2 separate regions of the Homo sapiens genome follow, and region 2 is linked to region 1. The links are contacts of gene promoters, found by promoter capture Hi-C in human tissues and cell types (Jung and others, 2019). All regions are on one chromosome and are shown on one strand. Each heading gives the region's core, a stretch centred on a gene start or on the middle of the fragment in contact. The rest is flanking DNA. Distances are from core to core; before and after follow the strand shown. Region 1 holds the start of ZNF26 (zinc finger protein 26). Region 2 has its middle 19 kb from the start of ZNF268.

Evidence for each region. Contacts are between HindIII fragments. The study calls those that stand out against the background at their distance.
Region 2: a contact is called between a fragment that was not itself captured here and the fragment with the promoter of ZNF26 in region 1, in 2 of the 25 tissues and cell types used here (dorsolateral prefrontal cortex and lymphoblastoid cells).

The regions. Positions count from the first base shown.
Region 1 is chr12:132,984,775-132,987,616 of GRCh38, forward strand. ZNF26 (zinc finger protein 26) reads left to right here and starts at 1,593. Exons shown (of 4, transcript NM_019591.4): 1 at 1,593-2,099. The coding sequence starts at 2,067. RefSeq lists enhancers at 1,214-1,683, 1,939-2,438, 2,164-2,213. The HindIII fragment of the contact is 17,637 bases long and covers 1-2,842 here.
Region 2 is chr12:133,160,663-133,163,452 of GRCh38, forward strand. No RefSeq gene overlaps it. Among named protein-coding and RNA genes, the nearest start is that of ZNF268, 19 kb to the right of the region's middle. The HindIII fragment of the contact is 4,932 bases long and covers 1-2,790 here.

The DNA.
Region 1 (2,842 bases), core at 343-2,842:
TTGACACTTCGGTTACTTCCAAATCTTGGCTATTGTGAATAGTGCTGCAGTCAACAAGGGAGTGCAGACAGCTCTTGGATATACTGATTTTCTTTCTTTCGGGTATATACCTAGGAGTGGGATAGCTGCATTGTATGGTAGCTCTATTTTTATTTTTTTGAGGAACCTCCAAACTGTTCTCCATAGTGGTTGTACTAATTTACATTCCCACCAAGAATGTACCAGGGTTCCCTTTTCCCCATATCCTCACCAGCATTTATTATTGCTTGTCTTTTGGATAAAAGCCATTTTAACTGGGGTGAGATAATATCTCGTTGTAGTTTTGATTTGCATTTCTCTGATGATCAATTATATTGTGTACCTTTTCATATACCTGTTTGCCATTTGTATGTCTTCTTTTGAGAAATGTCTATTCAGATGTTTGGCACTTTTTTTTTTTTTTTTTTTTTGAGACAGGGTTTCACTCCTGTCATCGAGGCTGGAGTGCAATGGTGCAATCTCGGCTCACTGCAACCTCCACCTCACGGGCTCAAGCAATTCTGCTGCCTTAGCCCCCCAAGTAGCTGAGACTACAGATGCATGCCACCACATCCGGCTTACTTTTGATATGTTTTGTAGAGACGAGGTTTCACCATGTTGCCCAGGCTAGTCTCCAACTCCTGGGCTCATGCGATCCACCCACCTCAGCCCTCCAAAATGCTGGGATTACAGACGTGAGCCATCGTGCCTGGCCATTTTGCACATTTTTAAATCTCAAAAGGCCAATCTACAATAGTGGTGTTATCTGTAGGAGTAACTGGGGAAGTTGCGTGTCTTGTGACCAATCCACATCTTAGCAGAATTCAGGCTCCTCTCCTCCCGCTAGCTTGGTGGTCTCTCATAGGTTTTACAAAGGCAGTTGGGTTTTGGAAAAGGGCTATCATTTGAACTATAACCTAAATGTCTTCCAAAGTTAGCTTGGCCTAAGCCCAGGAATAATGAAGGCATCTTGACAGCCAAAGGCGCGCAGAGTTGGGGGTTTGGTTAGATTAGACCTCCCCCACTGCTATAATTTTCTCACTGATATAATTTTTGCAAAGGCAGTTTCATTACTGGTGTGGTTCTATTTATTTGTTTTTCACATCTACTATAGTTTCTCCTTTATGAAGTTGGTTACTGTATTATTTGGTGCACTGATATTCAAAACTGTTATTTAACCCTATGAACTGCAGCTTTTAGCTTTACAAAGCGTCCTTTTTTGCTGTGCCTTCTGGTCTGAACCCTATCTTGTTTGATATCAAAACCTCAGCACGCCTGCGTCTCTGCTGGGGTCGGACTCTGAGTCAGTTCTACAGGCCCTGGGAAACTGGGCGTCCAGGCTCCGAGGATGGTACTGAACCTGGCGCAGCCGTGGGAGGGTGAACCAGGTGCCGCTGGCGGAGCCCCCTCCCAGCCTTCCTTTCCCGTCAGGCTGTGCCCCTCTCTAGATCCGCGGCAGCTGGAAGCCAGGCCTGTAACGAGGGAGCCTTCTCCGAGGATTGTGGGAGATGTAGTTTTTCCGGCGCCTTCGCGTCCTGGCGCATCGACGCAGGACGCACTTCCGCATGCGCCGCACTCCCGGCCTTAGTCGGGTGCGCGCGTGCAGGGCTGTTTCCGGCTTAGACTCAGTGGACCGGAATCTGGCCAGCGGGTGTACCTGGCTGAGTCTCTGTGGCCGCGGAGGCGCGGAGCTAAGCGGCTCGGATTATCCTGGGCAGACCAGAGACTTGACCAGCTAAACACTTCCGTCGGTCCGGGGCGTGGACGGGGCCAGATCAGCCTCCTGCTCTCCCGAGTCAGGGCCACGGAAAGGCACAAATCCATCCGTGCGACTCCTGGTACCCAGACCGGGAGGTTGTCTAGTCACGCGCGGTCTGTGTTGGGCGAGAGCTGAGGAGCCGGCGTCCCTGCCAACGACTCGGCCCCGGGACGGTCAGGAGCCTGGGGCCCTGGTCCCGCACCTGTCTTCGGGCGGACGCATCCCTCACGGTCTCTCCGCAGCCCGCGGGTCCTGCCCCCGCAGGCAGCGCGCGAACGTGGGCGTGGGGATGGCCACCAGTTTCCGGACAGCTTCGTGCTGGGTAAGTAGAGACTTTCCGTGTTTAAAATTCGACTGGATACTGAGGGTGGCCACGTTAATCTCTTCAGGGTTACTCCGGGAACTGAACTCACATTCAGCTGTAATTGTGTGCGTAGTTTACTAGACTACCCTCCCCACCAAACCAAAGCGCCTCTGAAGCTCGCCCAAGCTCTGGCCCTGCAGAAACGTGCCTGTGGTATTCTGTGACGGGCAGTTATACTGCACTTCATGGCCAGCTGCGGGCCCTGAAGTCTGAGGATCCTCCATCATTTCATGTTTTCTACACAAAGTTGTCTTATGGAGACCCTTAGAACTTAGCTGGAGAAATGATCAGTTCCTCCTTTTTCGTTTGGCCAAATGCTTGTTTATGGAGTGTCCTTTTGTCTGCTGGACTCTAAGGCTGGTGCTGGCAATGCAGAGATAAATTATGTATGTTCCTAATTTTAGAGGAGCTTTGGTTTGGTGGAGAGGGTAGTCTAGTGAACTATGGACGCAATTACAGGTGAATGAATAGGGAGAAAAGGCTAGGAGCGGAGCTCGAGAGTCCGAAAGGTAAGGGGCGGGCCAGTGGATCATCGGGACTTTATGAATTATTGATGGAGTGAACCAGAGGGGAGTCTTTACAAGTGATTTGATTGCCAAATCCTTTGCCCTCGGTGAGTGGTGTTGACGACGTTGCCGGATGTGGTGCTCTACCATTGAGCTATACAGCCGGAGACTAGGAATGCTATTGGAAGAGGGACC
Region 2 (2,790 bases), core at 111-2,610, 180 kb after region 1:
CGCCTTGACCAGGGTCTGTGAAATGGTTGGGGGTTTATAAAATGTTGCAGCTTGGACTAACAGTGACCAATTAGGAAATGAAATTAGAAATATAATCCCATTTACAATGATAGAAAAAATGTGAAATACTTAGATAAATTTAATGAAACATGAAAGACCTGCACAGTGAAAACTATAAAACATTGCTGGAAGAAGTTAAGGAACATATAATAAGAATAAATAACACAAAAGAAACGGAGAAATATACCTTGGTCAAGGATGGGAAAACTCAGTATTGTTAAGATGGCAGTCCTCCCGAAATTAATCTTTATTTTATTTATTTATTTATTTTTTGAGACGGAGTCTCGCTCTGTAACTCAGGCTGGAGTGCAGTGGTGCGATCTGGCTCACTGCAAGCTCTGCCTTCCGGGTTCATGCCATTCTCCTGCCTCAGCCTCCCGAGTAGCTGGGACCACAGGCGCCCACCACCACGCCTGGCTAATTTTTTTGTATTTTTAGTAGAGACGGGGTTTCACCCTGTTAGCCAAGGATGGTCTTGATCTCCTGACCTCATGATCTGCCCACCTCGGCCTCCCAAAGTGCTGGGATTACAGGCGTGAGCCACTGCACCCGGCCAATTTTTTAAAATTCTAATGAATTTTGTCATATACTGATCTGAAGGGTTTTTCAGTTAAAAAGTGCTGGAGAATGCTGTGATAATATGTTTGGGAAATAGAAGCTTTTCACATGAGTGTTCCTGAATCAGTCCTCACTGCCTAGACATTGAACTTATTAGACAAAATGGTGATATCGATAAACAGATAGAAATTATTAAAAAGAACTGAAGAGAAATTCTGGAGATGAAAAGTATAACTGAAATGAAAAATTCAGTATAGAGGTTTAACAGCATATTTGAGCAGACAGAAGGTAAATCAGCAAACTTGGAGATAAAACAATTGGAATTATATGTGTGAGGAACAGAAAGTAAATTTTAAAAAGTGAACAGATTACAGGCATTCCTTGGAGATACTGCAGGCTTCATTCTACACCACCACAACAAAGCAATCAATCATCATAAGGAAGTCACACAATATTTTTGGTTTCCTAGTGAATATAAAACCTATGTTTAGAGGGCGGGCTTCAAGATGACTGACTAAAGGCATTTGGTACTCACCTCATTCACAAAGAGGAACCAAAAATGGCAAGTATATAATCACACTTTGAGTAGATCATCTAAGAGAGGACATATAATTCAACAGAGAAGTGATAGAAAACACCTAAGGCAAGGAAGCAGAGGGAGGTGAGGTAGCCTGCTCAGCCACTGGAGATTGACTGAGAACCCAGAGAAACACCCCAATGTGAGGAAAGGGTATGTGAGAGATTCCCTAGCAGTCCACATTTCCACCATGGTTTCTTGCAATCCTAGCATGGGAAATTTCCTCAACCCTCACAGGCCCTAAGACCAACATAGTAGCTGCCTGGAGACCACATGATGGCATTGCTACAGAGATGGGGCATACACTGGGTCTTACACACACCCTGAGTCCTAAGTAGCTGCAGCACAGTGCCATTTTGAGAGCCCAGACCCTACCACACTTCACCCTGCATTGGTGCTCAATAGCTCCTGCATATCTGCATCCCAGGAGCCCCGTTGACAAGCATGCTTGGCCCACCACTCCCACTCCCTTGGGCCCTGGGGCACAAGGGCTGGCCCACCTGGAATCCCTATCTCCAGCAAAACTACTACAGTCTACACCAACGATGGTGCTCTAAGCCACTGAGGAAATCACAGGTACCACTGAAACTGCTTACAGCTGAAGAAATTATATGGAGACTACACTGCTGCATGGACCCAAAATAAAAACTAAAGTGCCCTACCCCGGGCCAGGCGCAGTGGCTCATGCCTGTAATCCCAGCACTCTGGGAGGTGGGCGGATCACCTGAGGTCAGGAGTTCAAGACCAGCCTGGCCAACATGGTGAAACTCCATCTCTACTAATAATACAAAAATTAGCCAAGTGTGGTGGTGGGCACCTGTAATCCCAGCTACTCAGGGGGCTGAGGCAGGGAAATCGCTTGAACCCGGGTGGCAGAGGTTGCAGTGAGCCCAGATCCCACCAGTGCACTCTACCCTGGGTAACAGAGTGAGATTCTGTCTCAAAAAAAAAATTTAAAAATTAAATTAAATTAAAAAGTGCCCTACCTGGCCAGGTGCAGTGGCTCATGCCTGTAATCCTAGCACTTCGGGAGGCCAAGGCAGGGAGATTACTGGAGCTCTGGTGTTTGAGACCAGCCTGGGAAACATGGTGAAACCCAGTCTCTACAAAAAATACAAAACTTAGCCAGGTGGTGTATGCCTGTGGTCCCAGCTACTTGGGAGGCTGAGGTAGGAGGATTGCTTAAGCCCGGGAAGTAAAGCTTGCAGTCAGCCATAGACACATAGTTGCAGTCACCATAGATACATCTTTAGGAAAAAGTCCTCCTCTACTAAAGCAAATTCAAAAAAATGGAAGAAGTGACTTTTTCACCAGATGTGTATATATCAATGTTGAGAACACAAGAAATATGAAAAAAAAAACTAAGGAAAAAATGACACCTCCAAAGGAACACAGTAACTCTCCAGCAAACAAGGATGCTATATCCAGAAAAGTTAAATGAAGTCATAAATGAAGAAGAAAGAAAGTCTTTCCCAGGCAAATAAAAACTTAGGGAATTCATCACCAGTAGACTGGCTGGCTAAACAAGAAATTCGTATGGGAGTCCTACACCTGGAAGCAAAAGAGCAATATCTACCATCATGAAAACATATGAA